Linked DNA regions of Homo sapiens: all the other regions are linked to region 3. Evidence: promoter capture Hi-C in 16 types of primary human blood cells and fetal thymus (Javierre and others, 2016). All regions are on one chromosome and are shown on one strand. Each heading gives the region's core, a stretch centred on a gene start or on the middle of the fragment in contact. The rest is flanking DNA. Distances are from core to core; before and after follow the strand shown.

Region 1 (2,700 bases), core at 201-2,700, 920 kb after region 3:
GGGAATAACGTAACCAAACCAAAATGAAATGTTTCCTTTTTATTAAAGATCATAGAAGAAGATGCTGCTCTTGTAGAAATAGGACCTCGTTTTGTCTTAAATCTCATAAAGATTTTCCAGGGAAGTTTTGGAGGACCAACTTTATATGAAAATCCTCACTACCAGTCACCAAACATGGTAAGCGGTTGTGTCATTCAGTAGTCTTCAATGTACCAGAACCCTTTGGCCAAAATGATTCTGTGAAGTAATTGCTGTTTTATTACCTGTGAAACTGAATTTGGTTTTTGCTGCATAGAAACTTGGAAATTACTCCCTTTTTTCATGACACTGGCTGAAAGGATATATGGTTCATAACTGAAAGTCTTTGCCTTATATAAAATGTTTATTTTTATTTCAAAAGCATCTAATCTTTTTTTTTTTTTTTTAGCATCGGCGTGTCATAAGATCCATCACAGCTGCAAAATACAGAGAGAAACAGCAAGTGAAAGATGTGCAAAAACTGAGAAAGAAAGAGCCGAAGACTCTTCTTCCACATGATCCCACTGCAGATGTTTTTGTAACACCAGCTGAGGAGAAACCAATAGAAATACAGTGGGTAAAACCAGAGCCAAAAGTTGATTTGAAAGCAAGAAAGAAACGGATTTACAAAAGGCAAAGAAAAATGAAACAGAGGATGGACAGTGGGAAAACAAAATAAGTCAATGGAAACCTGATTTGTTTTTCAGTTACTTTATATTTATTTTGTATTCAATGTGTAAATACTTTTATTATCTAATACTATCTTACGTCTAATTAGTGTAGCATTTACAAGAAAGAAAAATTAAGATCTTAAAATCAGTGATTATCTTTTTCTAAATAAAATATCACCAGAATTCATCAGTTAATTTCTGATTTCTTTTTGAAGTTTGTGTTGCTAAAAATGTAGCACACTTAATGTAGCCTGTTCTCTTGGGTTGGAATTTTTGGTTTAGCAAAGCTGAAATTCAGACATTTATTAGGTCATATTATTTGTAAAAGCATTCAACACTTCAAGAGCATCGGTTGTGGATGGTAAAGTAGGAGTAGACTGGTAGAAAGGAAGGCATCTCACTGAAGTTTACTCAGTCATCAGTTAATGAAGCCATGGAAGAACCAACCCCTGATCTGTCACTTCAAAAAAGAGTATATTAAAATGTTGAGGTTTTGAGAATCAAATGCATTAATGGCTGTGTTGAAAGCACTTTGTAAATTTTTTATTTTATTATATTTTATTTGTGAGACGGAGTTTCGCTCTTGTTGCCCAGGCTGGAGTGCAATGGCGCGATCTCGGTTCACCGCAACCTCCACCTCCCTGGTTCAAGTGATTCTCCTGCCTCAGCCTCCCGAGTAGCTGGGATTACACGCATGTGCCACCACGCCCAACTAATTTGTATTTTTAGTAGAGTTGGGGTTTCTCCATGTTGGTCAGGCTGGTCTCGAACTCCTGACCTCAGGTGATCTGCCCACCTCGGCCTCCCAAAGTGCTTGGATTACAGGCATGAGCCACCATGCCCGGCCAAATGACATACTTATTTTAGAAGCAGTGTGTATAGATTACTTATTTAGAAAACTAATAGTAAAAGGAGAGAAAAATAGGACAGTTGTTAAAGGGGATACCAGAACATTTGAATTTTTCCCCACATGAAAGAGAAACTGCCTATTGTGTAAGGGGGCACTAGGCTTAAGATCTTATGGGTAAATTAGTAACGGAAAGAAAAGATTCTGAGTACCAGTGACCATGGAGGTAGGTGGCTGCTGACATGGACAGATAGAAATACAATAAAATATATATCTAATGAAATGACACATGCTGTTTCATCACCTGCTTTTTTGACTTCACACTGATTGTTTTTCTATGTGTTTGTTCCACATGTTTACTTGCTAACTGTTAACTGTAGTATTCTGTGTACCATAGCTATGTAATCAGTATTTTCAGTTTTTCCTCTTTTTTTTGCTGGTATCGATGCTTGTAGTGAATACTTATATAGATGTGTTACATGTCTTTTTACACAACACTTGGTTTCCTAGAAGTGCAACTTAGGTTAAAGATTATGAACTCTAGGCTTTTTGCTTGTTCCCTCCACCACCATAACCTCACTAGAGGCTATTAGAGGGTTCATTTCCTTGTCCCCTTACCAGTTTCACTATGCATGAAAGAATCTGTCAATTCAATAGGTTAAAAAAAAAAAACCACCTTTTTTTTTTTTTAGTTACTGGTTTATCCTTTTTGACTGGACTAATCATGTTTGTTTTTCTGTGGTAGGATTGTCTTTTACTGATTCTATAAGTGCTTTTATATAGTAAGTTTATTATAGAGATCTTTCCTAGTTCACTTACATTTTAATTTTATGTCTTTATTATTTTAAGTATTTAGGCAGAATGATCAATATTGATGGTTTTTTTTTCCTTAAATTTTTTGCTAAGAACGGCCTTCCTGAGTGCTTAATTGGCCTTGAAATAGTCTAAATTAGGAAACTTGAAATCTTGAAGTCATCTAAATTATGCAGGTAATTCAGGTGAGAGGATCACTTGAAATACTTGTATGTGACTAGGGCCAAATCTAGTTAAATGGAAAAAAACCAAAGTGGCCGTTATTTTATTTAGGCAGTTGAATATAGTCTTGGATAAAAATAAGACAGCCGTATTCAGAATTTGTTTTTAAACACCCACATCTCAGGAACA
Region 2 (2,788 bases), core at 1-2,500, 930 kb after region 3:
ACTCAGATGATCCTCCCATGTCAGCCTCCCAAGTAGCTAGGGCTACAGGAACCTGCCATCATGGCCAGCTAAAAAACTGCAGTTACTTTTGCACCAACCTAAATATTTTCTTTGGAGATGGGGTTTTGCCATGTTGTCCAGGTTGGTCTTGAACTCCTGGATTCAAGTGTTCCACCTGCCTCAGCCTTTCAAAGTGCTAGGATTGCAAGCGTGAGCCACTGCATCCAGTTAAAAGGAGTAAGTTTAGTATCTCTGAACTTGTGTTTTCTTTTTTTTTTTTTTTTTTTTTTTGGAGACAGAGTCTCACTCTGTTGCCCCGGCTGGAGTGCAGTGGCACGATCTCAGCTCACTGCAACCTCCACCTCCTGGATTCAAGCGATTCTCCTGCCTCAAGCTCCCGAGTAGCTGGGACTACAGATGCAGGTCACCGCACCCAGCTAATTTTTGTATTTTTAGTAGAGACAGGGTCTCACCATGTTGGTCAGGCTGGTCTCAAACTCCTGGCCTCAGGCGATCCACCCACCTCGGCCTCCCAAAGTGTTGGGATTACAGGCGTGAGCCACAGCGCCTGGCCCTTGTGTTTTTTTTTGAGGTGAAGTGTAACATTTTGAAAGTTCTAAAAACAATGTGCTTGTAGCAGTTGATAACTAGCCCCACATACTGTCTCGGGGGATTCCTTTCCAGCAGGGTAGAAAGAGGTATTTGTACCTGCCATTAAACCTGTTGTACTGATTGTCACTCATCCCAGTATTCCTATAGCTGCTTTTAAAACACATGCACTGTCTCCAGAAGCATTGCTTGTTTTGGCAAAGAAGACATAGTCACATGGGCAAAAAGTCTAGACCGTGTCTAATCATCTCCCTCCATCATTGGTGTCAGACTCACTTCCCACCATCATTGTCCCATGCAGGCTGATGCTGCCAATATAGGGGCTTTAAACTTGTCTGGCCCAGAGTATCTTTGCTGAAGTGGAAGAACTTTATCTTAGGGGAACAATGATGAAGAAAGAAGTATTAAAACGGATACCATTATTATAAAGGAGGGAGGAAACAACACGGGAGAAAATGGGAGTAGAATCAGCAAGGGAAAAAAAGCAAAATGGGCAATCAGAGAGAAAGGAGGCCAAAGGATGAGAATGGCGCTGTGAGAGTCATAAATGGTATTACCATATGACCTCAGGGAGAAATGACAGAGTACTAGGGGAAGTGGAAAGAGGCAGAAAAATTAGAAACAAGCAAGAAAAAGGTCAACAATGAAGGAGATTAAAAATTTTTTTTTATTTGGAAATGACACACTTAAAGGTAAATTGCAAGAAGAGAATATAGTGTGTCTGATTGACCTGTTACTAACGTTTTGCACAATTTGCATGTCCTCTTTCTCTCTACACGCTCAACACACACACAGTATTTTTCTGAATAATTTGAAAGTAACTTACATATATAGTGTTCCTTTACCTCTAAATACTTCACTATATCTTAAGAATAAGGTTATTCTCGCTGGGCGCAGTGGCTCACGCCTGTAATCCCAGCACTTTGGGAGGTTGAGGTGGACAGATCACCTGAGGTTGGGAGTTTGAGACCAGCCTGACCAACATGGAGAAACCCCGTCTCTACTAAAACTACAAAATTAGCTGGGCGTGGTGACGCATACCTGTAATCCCAGCTACTCAGGAGGCTGAGGCAGGAGAATCGCTTGAACTCAGGAGGCGGAGGTTGTGGTGAGCCAAGATCGTGCCATTGCACTCCAGCCTGGGCAATAAGAGCAAAACTCCGTCTCAAAATAAAAAAAAAAAGTAAGGTTATTCTCTTATGTAACCATGCTACAGTGACCAAATAAAAGAAATTATTAACATTGATATGGTATTTTTATCTAATTTACTACCTGCATTCCAATTTTGCCAATCAATTATTTATTAATATAGAATTTTTCTCCAATACAGAATGCAGTCTAAGAACATAATCTGGAACAGCTTGTGTTGTCTTTTATGCTGTTTACATTTTAGAAGTACACTGTTTTCACTTTTTTCATAGAATTCTTCTCATTTTGTCTTTGTGCATTTCCTCATGATTAGATTCAGGTTATGCAGCCCCAGGAGGGACGCCGCACAAGCATGTTGTGCTCTCAGGGATTCATAGCTGGAGACACGTAAAGTCCTTCTACCCCTCATTTGTCGTGATAATTTTCATCACCCAATCAAGGTGTCATCTAATTTTACTACTATACTACTAATTTTACTATAGAGTTAGTATTTTTTCCCTTGCAACAGGTTTTCCCTTGTAACATGTTTAATCTGTGAGGAGACACTTTAAAACTATGCAGATATCTTGCTTCTCATAAAAGTTTTCCTCATAGCTTTAGCATCTGTTGATGGTTTTAGCTTGCGTCAGTCTTTTTTATGATGGTTGCAGAATGATGCTTTTCCAGTGCCAGTACCCCCTCAAGTTTTTATCAGTTAGCACTTGGCCTTCTGCTGTAAACAGGAGCCTTCCCTTTTATCCATTTATCTATTATCAGTTTGAATTTATTTCTTTTTTTCAGTGTTTTATAATTCATTACTGACCTTTTCATGCTCAAATTTTTCCAGAATTGGTTAGTGAGCATTCCTTCAAACCACCCTTGTGTCCTTTTGACATGTGCTTATAACTTTTTTGGAGGACTTACTTTCAGACACAGGATCTTCCATTATCTCCAGGGCAGCTTGGTCTCAAGGAGAATTTTAGTAGGAAAGAAAAACAGCAACTAAAACTATAATACCAAAAGCCTGAACAGATGAGATGAAGTAGATAGT
Region 3 (2,700 bases), core at 143-2,642:
GCCTCCCTCATCTTAAATGGAGCATTCTTAAATTATTACATAATCTTAATTATTAAATCATTATTGTTACAAGCCTCAAATACAGCTGTGAGGGTTAAATGAGTTAACGCATTTAAATAAGCCGGCTGTGCCGTAGGCATTCATTCATTCACCATTTACCGATTTCCCACTATAGACCAGGCAATGCTTTGGATTTCTACTTGAACAAAGTTATTCTGGCAGCTGTCTGAGAATCCACTGGAGTGATACCAGCCCCAAACACCAGTTTTTAAAAGGCTGTCACACCAGTGTCAAGGCAGTTGCAGCAGGTATGGAGAGAAATAGTCCGAGTGGGCTAAGGAGCAAAATGACTGTATTGATGATCATTGAAATTGGATGTGAAAGGAAGACTGGAGTCCATGATGAAGTACAAGTTTGAGATTCAGGCATTCACTGAAATAAATAATACAGAAGGTGGAGATGCTGTTTTAGAAGGAAGAAGGAAAGGCTCATTTTGGGATTTGTGGAAGCTGCCTGGCGGGCAGCCTTGACGGCGATGCCCAGGACCTGTGTATGCCAGCGTCTGCCGCTCTGAAAGGGGGAAGTCTACAAAAAGGTGAAAATGATGGGAATGGGTAACTGGGCTTCAGGGAGCAGATGCTGAGACTTAGAACGCCAGCATTTCAGGCAGGGAGGAGCGTTAGCCTGGGCCCGTGGATGGCTTGAGGGTACAGCACTCCAAAACGGTAGCCGAATGACCGCCTATATGCAGTTTTCCAGGAAGGGAATCCTATGGCTTTCATTAGATTCTCACAGGGTTCAAGACCCTCAATTAATTAAGAAAGGCAAATACGGAACGTTTCTTAGAAAAAAAAGGAGGAATTTGGGAAGGAGTCAGAGAGGCAAAAGGAGAAACCGGGCAACAGCAGTATCTCAGAACCCAAGTTTTGGACAATCCAGTTTGGGAAGAATGATCACTAACAATACCCTAGGAGGCAAAAATCTGGAAGGCTGGGGCCGACAAGGGTTCTTGCGGCAACAGGGCAAAGGTGTGGCGGGTGCAGCCTCGATCGAACGGCCAGGCCCCTCCCCTCCGCGGGAACTTCCCGAGAGCAGCCCGCGGGGCCCGGGCTCACCGCGGCGGAAGGGCTCCAGCAGCACATCCGACCGCTTGCACAGACGCCGCAGCACGGCGGCTCCCCGCGGCTGCTTCAGGTCCAGCACTAGCGAGCGCTTGCCCCGGCCCAAGCGGCTCACGTCGTAGCGGGAGCCGGGCCGGTCCACGCGTACCACACGCGCCCCGAAGTCAGCCAGGACCATAGCACAGAACGGGCCCGGGGCCAGGCCGGACAGCTCCACGACCGAGATGCCCTGCAGTGCCATGGCGCTTCCCAGTGCCCCGCTGAAGGAAACTGAGCAGCCCTTAGCCCCAGCCCAGCAGCCTGCAAGAAGCCCTCCCAATCCCCGGCGCCACGCCCCCAGCCGCGGCGCCGCGCCCCAAAGGCACCACCCCCGTCCCTCTTTTGCGGGCCTGCGCAAGCCCGCGGAGTCTGCGCACTGGGCGCTTCCCCACCCCCGGCCTCCCGGGACCGCCAGTGCCAAATGCAGTAGGTTGCTTTCCTTTTTGTGCAACCTAAATTCCTGAGTCTTAAATTGCAGGGACTGACCTTTGGAGCTCCTGCCTGTTACCGTCCTCTCTGGACGCTTTTATTGTACCAGGGCGATCCCCAGCCCAACTGTACCATTCGAGTCCCTACTCCTGCCTTGCTCTAGGGAAATAAAATAACGTAAACACGTAAGAACAATGCGAAAGCGTTTTCTTCCCTAGGCTGCAGATTGTCTTCTTCACCGCCCCTGCTTAGCTAGCTAGCTAGCTGGGAATTTAATCCAGAAACGGCTTGCGATACCTCCTAGATGCACTCGTTTTGAGTTACAAACTCCGCGGATTACATGTCTTTTTAAAAAAGTTTAGACTACACTAGGAAAATTATTTTAGTATCAGAAGAATATCAGGGGTGTAGTACTCATCAGAGCTAAATGAGAGCGCTTTAAAAATGTTAGTTTGTCTTCCGCCATTTCTACAGAAAGCTGCAATTTCAGGTTTTCAACCTAATAGGTGATATTTAAGAAAAAAAAAAAGCAATCGCAAATAGCCCCACTGCTTTTACAAATCATTTTTTCTCTTCTAGGTATAGCCTGTCAGGTGGCCTAATGTAATTTTTGACATCTCTAGGAATTTTAATAGAACCAGAAATGGGTGCCAGAGATATGCCTGCACTAATCTTAAGTGGGGATTTATGTATTTCTCAAGCAAGTGATTAAAGCAAAACTAGGCACGATTGAAATCAAGATCTTTTAGGCAAGAAAGTCATGATGAGTTTTAGAATTATTTTAGGACTCTGTGGCTTTCTCTTCATAGAAATAGAAAAAAAAATTGTATAAAACCACAAAAGGTCCTGAATAGCCAAAGCAACACTGAACAAAAAGAACAAAGCAGGAAGCAACACACTACCAGAATTCAAATTATACTACCAAGGTGTAGTAACCAAAACAGCATTCTATTGGCATAAAATAGACACAAAGACCAATGGAACAGAATAAAGAACCCCAAAATAAATCCATATATTTACAGCCAGCTGATTATCAATAAAAACACCAAGAACATATATTAAGGACATTCTATTCAATAAGTAGTGCTGGAAAAACTGGAAATCCATATGC
Region 4 (2,767 bases), core at 230-2,729, 540 kb before region 3:
AACCATCCAGCTGGATTTCCAGTTGCCCATCAGATTTAATCTTACTTATGTAAGGTGAGTTTCTGGTGTCTGCTCTGAATATTCTCCAGGGATATATAAGAGAAAATATATATAATAAGACAAAACAATTTTTTTTTTCTTTATAGCCATGATGGTGATGATAAGAAAAGGCCAGTGATTGTTCATCGAGCCATCTTGGGATCAGTGGAAAGAATGATTGCTATCCTCACAGAAAACTATGGGGGCAAATGGTAATTTTTGTCACTGTCTTTTTTTTCTGATTAGTATAAATTGGCTACAAGAAATGTCTACTTTTCGATTTAATTATCAGATGGAAAGGGAGAATGATTCCAATCGGTTGCTTCTAACTAACGACAAGTGTTCATTAAAAAATAAGGAATCACAATCTAAACACAAACTTTTTAGCATTAAGAACAATTGCTAATAGTAATTACTTTAATTCCAGAACTTGATTTGTTTGGATGTTGTGTAATACTTTCTAATTAGGAATTAGTATTCTGTAAGAAGTATACTTACTGTTTTGGATGCTTTTCTAGTAACTTTGTTTTGGGATTTAGATGGCTTTGCTGGTTTTACATAGATAAATGAGGAGGCTTATGGCTTTCTTCGTTCAGCCTTGCTAATCATAACAAGCAGGTATTTGGACATGTTTTAAAAGCCAAGCATTTTTTAAAACAGATGCCAAACCGATCAACATTTGTGATTCATTTCTGTGAGGTTAAGTAAGTTTTTGTTTCCAAGATACATGGCCACATAACTTTCATCTTAATTCTTAAGCAGTTTTTTCTGGACCCACAGTGCATTTGAAAGCAGCACAGGGTTATAAAAGCACCCGTGTGTAGAGCCTTCCATATTAATCATATTGATTTAAAACTTTTGTAAAATGACGTACATTGGTTTAATCTTACACATTACTGTCATTTCAGTTTTATTTGAACTTGGTTACTTCAGAAATTAGGACAGTTTCTCATTCTGATCAATGATACAAGATAATCTCTAGATTTCTCAAAGTCAGATAAAATGTGAGACACATTCTCTGCAAGGTATTTCAAGAATTAAGGGAGTCCTCAGCTAATTGCTCTGCTAAACCTGTTTTAGGTGGGGAAAAGTCCATGATTAGGGTAGAATTTAGTGCCTACTTTAGCCTTTTGCCTGATACAACAGAACAACTGAAAATAGAGGAATGATGGAGAAAAACATTAGCCTGATGTTTGCAGCATCAGAAGCATTTGACACTTGTATTGCTTCAAAGGGAGAATTGGATGGGCTTATTTTTTAATAAGTAGTGAAAACTCTGATTTTTACCAAGTGCCATAACCAGTTATTATCAATTACAATTTGCTGAATGATACAAAATGGATGTTGAGTAAACTGAGGGCACTGTGTCCCCGTGAAGAATAAGTAATAAAATGAACAATTAATCACTACATGCAGTTATTAAATCATTTGTTACCTCCTCTCACAGCCAATACACAGTGTTTTGTGATGTATTAAAGTGTGAGGCCTAGTCCTATCCTCAATTTGCTTTGCTATCTACTTAGCAAGACAAATTGTAGTTACAGGCTTTCCTTACGTAGGGTTAGTTTTCTTCTCCTGCATCTCCTCGCCTTAATCTTTATTGGATAGGTCTTTTCATTTTGGGGTTTTTTAAAGCCAAGTTTTAAAAGTAGTCGTTACATGTTCCAGGAAAAGATACTGAAGAGTAGAGTAAGAAATATGCTGTCCCTGTTTAGTGAATATGCCCACATCTACACTGAATATTTTTATTCTCTTCCAAAGGCCCTTTTGGCTGTCCCCTCGCCAGGTAATGGTAGTTCCAGTGGGACCAACCTGTGATGAATATGCCCAAAAGGTAAGCCTTAGATATGAATTTTCTTTCAATTTAACATCTGTTGTTCAGCTTTTCAAATCACATAAGCCCTGTATTCTTGGTGAATCGAGCTGTTGTGATAAAGAGAAATGTTACTATTTTTAATCTTTGTTAAGCCTGAATAGATTATATTACTTCTTTAATGCTTTTCTCCATGATTCCATAATCAGAAGACATATTTGGATAGTGTTTTATGTACACTTGTATATTTTATTGTATTTGTTTTAAGAGATGGGATCTTTCTCTTGCCCCAACTGGAGTGCAGTAGTACAGTCATGGCTCACTGTAACCTCAAACTCCTGGGCTCACGCAGTCCTCCCACCTTGGCCTCCCGAGTAGCAGTGACTACAGGCAGGAGCCACCATACCCAGTTACACTTGTATATTTTAGTATTTAGTATTTTAAAAAACCAGATTAGCAGATATCAGGTACTTCAGTATGGTAGGTAAATTCCCGTTCAAAATACAGTTTAGGCTGCTCTTTGACTCAGTGAGTAATTTTGCTTCATTTTAATGTAAATTTCTTCAGGTAGTTGAAATTTTTTCAGGTTAATAGTATAGCAGACCAATGTCTTGCCTCTCTACCAAAAAAACTAACTTACCAACAAATGTATAGCCATTCATAACTTCACTTTAAAGCATTGTTCTGCCATAGTGAAAATTCCATACTAAGGAATTTCAAATTATTAAAAGTTGATGAGTGAACAATACTGTAACATCAAAACCATCATGTCTTCAGACCATCAGAATAAACCACACTCAGTTCTTAATTACCCTTAAGAAATAAATGAACTTGAGCATGGAGATGCATACCTGTAGTCCCAGCTACTTAGGAGCTTGAGGCAGGAGGATCTTTGAGGGTTCAGGGTGTGATGAT
Region 5 (2,700 bases), core at 201-2,700, 900 kb after region 3:
AAATAATAGTTTTAAATGTACAAAAATATCCATCCTTACTGAGCTGATTTATATTTGTTTTAAATTCTTTTTAGATTCAACTTTTAAAAAATACATTAGGCCAGGCATGATAGCTCACGCCTGTAATCCCAGCCCTTTGGGAGGCCGAGGCGGGTGGATTGCTTGAGCTCAGGAGTTCAAGATTAGCCTAGGGAACATAGTAAAACCCCATCTCTACAAAAAATACAAAAATTAGCAGGGCATGGAGGCATGCACCTGTAGTCGTAGCTATTTGGGAAGCTGAGATGGGAGGATTGCTTGAGCCTAGGAGATTGAGGCTGGAGTGAACTGTAATCCTACAACTGTACTCCAGCCTGGGCAACAGAGCAAGATCTTGTCTCCAAAAATAAAAATAAAAAAACTGAGATCAAAATAAATTTAGAGCTAAATCATCAGAATTAAGTAGTGACTAATAAGATGCTAAAAGAAAATCTGAAATTGGAGAGTCTTTCATCTAACAGAGTTACTAAATGCCCATTATATGTTAGGCGCCGTTCTTTGTTCACACTAGTAACAAAAGACAAAAAATAACTATGCTATTTCACATTTAACAGTCCTTAGAATGTTGACTGATTAGATATTTTCCCAAGTATCTTTTAGGTTTGTTCTGTTCTTGGTGGTTATCTAAACAAAAAATACTCTGACAACATTTAGTAAATTCATTTGTTTCCTTCTTGAATACAAACATTTTAGAAAATTCCAACTTCTTTTGTAGTCACTGCTAAATTTTGTATGCTGAGATTGAGACACTTACTAGTTATCAGGTGCTGACCCTGGCCACCTCCCAGAATTGTCCATATGCCTGGGAAGCAGTGCCTGCCATTGTGCTGGAGTAGCCTCCTTGCAGCACACTTTGCTGTAATACTCTCCAAACCAATTTTCTCTAATGCTATGTGACCTATATTAAGGTAGGGCATTCCAATATATCCTCCAATTTTGGTGAATACAATTGAATGGTTCTCAACAATGAATAGTTTGGCACACTTTTATTTGGGGGAGGTGGGGTGGTCACAATGACTAGCATCAGTGGGTAAGGGCCAGAAAGGCTAAATGAATCCTGCAATGGGATGACAGGTTTTTATCCTAAAGAACTGTCTCACTCAAAAGGCCAATAGTGACTGTCCATGGAGGGACACTCAGCTGTTGTCACCTGGTACAGTAACAAAGACAGAAGCTTCACTTTACTCATGTAATTTTTTCTACTAGACAGGAAGATAATTTTTGCATTTTATTAAATATATTTATATGCCACAAAAATTATTTTAGTGACAACTACCAGGAAAGTACAAAATCACTTAATAACTGGTTTTCTACACCTTGATTTGTCAAGAAACTCATAAGCAAATGGAAAGTAGTAAGTACTGATTGCAGTTACTTACAGCAAACAGTTTTGAGAAGAAGAAGAAAACCTGTAACACTGAAAATTGCTTTATATCCCATTCATAGATCTCTTCAAAAGGTCTACTTTAAAAATAAATCACATAAAGAATTGTTCAGACTTGTTTGGTGATGCCTCAACTTCAGAACATTTGCAAGGAAATCACATGTAAAAGCAATCATCTCATACAATTAAATGCTATTAAAGAAAAAAAAAGTTTCCTTTAAAACAGTGGTTCCCAAAATTTAGCAGGCATCAGAATCTCCTGAGGGAAGCTTGTTAAAATACAGAATGCTGGCCTCCTCCCCAGAGTTTGCTACAAGTTTGCAGGCCATTCTGATGTTGGTGCGGGCACAACACTTTGAGAACCACTACTTTAAGATCTAGTCTCTAGAATTCAAACTAATAAGCAATGCCCATATGCCTTTGCTTTTTCTAATAATAAATAAATAAAAGATCATTTCAGGTAGCTGCATCAAACTTTAAGCCTTTAGACTTTTTTTTTTTTTTTTTTTGAGGCAGAGTTTTGCTCTTATTGCCTAGGCTGGAGTGCAATGGCGTCATCTCAGCTCACCACAACCTCCGCCTCCCGGGTTCAAGCAATTCTCCTGCCTCAGCCTCCCGAGTAGCTGGCATTACAGGCATGTGCCACCACGTCCGGCTAATTTTTTGTATTTTTAGTAGAGATGGGGTTTCTCCACGTTGGTCAGGCTGGTCTCGAACTCCTGACCTCAGGTGATCCGCCCACCTCGGCTTCCCAAAGTGCTGGGATTAAAGCCACCACACCCGGCCACCTTTAGACTCTTGAAATGTTACGCTGACTCACAATTATTCCCATGAGTTCAAAAGACAGAACTAAAGGACAGTCCTGAATAATCTATGACTACAGGAAAACATTTATTTACATGCCCTCTACAAAATGGATTTACAAAACATAGTAACTATTAGGGTACATGACCTTGCTCCTATCTTCCCCATTGTGCTTCTTCTCTATAGAAAATCCAATATGAAATGACAAAGAGTACTGTACTCAGAATAAGAACTTCATCTATCATAAATGTACACATAAATATCAGTGAATTGTCATACTCAAGACTCAGATTCAGGAACTTCTTCATCAGGGCAGCAGTAATATTCCACAAAACATATTTGTCCATCTTCATTTCTAATCATATACTGTAATGAAAGGAAGCCTCTGTTATCTGTCCGAATAGATACCTTACAAGATAGGACTAATGCCTTTGTAGAGGGTTTCAGTAAGGAAATCTTGTATCTGTAGAAGA

Evidence for each region. The method cuts DNA at HindIII sites, captures the fragments that hold promoters and counts their contacts. A CHiCAGO score of 5 or more calls a contact.
Region 1: a contact is called between a fragment that was not itself captured here and the fragment with the promoter of AMACR in region 3, in 6 of 17 cell types (total CD4 T cells, naive CD8 T cells, activated CD4 T cells and 3 more). The highest score is 8.4, in total CD4 T cells.
Region 2: a contact is called between a fragment that was not itself captured here and the fragment with the promoter of AMACR in region 3, in 2 of 17 cell types (total CD8 T cells and total B cells). The highest score is 5.5, in total CD8 T cells.
Region 4: a fragment that was not itself captured here is called in contact with the fragment with the promoter of AMACR in region 3 in 1 of 17 cell types (erythroblasts); the score reaches 5.7 in erythroblasts.
Region 5: a contact is called between a fragment that was not itself captured here and the fragment with the promoter of AMACR in region 3, in 2 of 17 cell types (activated CD4 T cells and naive CD8 T cells). The highest score is 6.8, in activated CD4 T cells.

The regions. Positions count from the first base shown.
Region 1 is chr5:34,924,799-34,927,498 of GRCh38, forward strand. BRIX1 (biogenesis of ribosomes BRX1) reads left to right here. Exons shown (of 10, transcript NM_018321.4): 9 at 49-177; 10 at 428-1,198. The coding sequence ends at 697. LOC124900961 (a long non-coding RNA gene) reads right to left here. Exons shown (of 2, transcript XR_007058731.1): 2 at 714-2,700. It also overlaps a transcript of TTC23L not described here. Among named protein-coding and RNA genes, the nearest start is that of DNAJC21, 3.4 kb to the right of the region's middle. The HindIII fragment of the contact is 4,450 bases long and covers 1-2,700 here.
Region 2 is chr5:34,941,293-34,944,080 of GRCh38, forward strand. The region is part of intron 7 of DNAJC21 (DnaJ heat shock protein family (Hsp40) member C21); the gene reads left to right. Among named protein-coding and RNA genes, the nearest start is that of DNAJC21, 13 kb to the left of the region's middle. The HindIII fragment of the contact is 3,892 bases long and covers 1-2,788 here.
Region 3 is chr5:34,006,658-34,009,357 of GRCh38, forward strand. It overlaps AMACR (alpha-methylacyl-CoA racemase), which reads right to left and starts at 1,393. Exons shown (of 5, transcript NM_014324.6): 1 at 1,116-1,393. The coding sequence starts at 1,362. The region is part of intron 6 of C1QTNF3-AMACR (C1QTNF3-AMACR readthrough (NMD candidate)); the gene reads right to left. RefSeq lists a silencer at 1,530-1,609. The HindIII fragment of the contact is 12,530 bases long and covers 1-2,700 here.
Region 4 is chr5:33,461,953-33,464,719 of GRCh38, forward strand. It overlaps TARS1 (threonyl-tRNA synthetase 1), which reads left to right. Exons shown (of 19, transcript NM_152295.5): 15 at 1-54; 16 at 147-251; 17 at 1,801-1,873. Among named protein-coding and RNA genes, the nearest start is that of TARS1, 22 kb to the left of the region's middle. The HindIII fragment of the contact is 3,857 bases long and covers 1-2,767 here.
Region 5 is chr5:34,906,259-34,908,958 of GRCh38, forward strand. It overlaps RAD1 (RAD1 checkpoint DNA exonuclease), which reads right to left. Exons shown (of 6, transcript NM_002853.4): 6 at 1-2,690. The coding sequence ends at 2,507. It also overlaps a transcript of TTC23L not described here. Among named protein-coding and RNA genes, the nearest start is that of RAD1, 7.9 kb to the right of the region's middle. The HindIII fragment of the contact is 479 bases long and covers 1,212-1,690 here.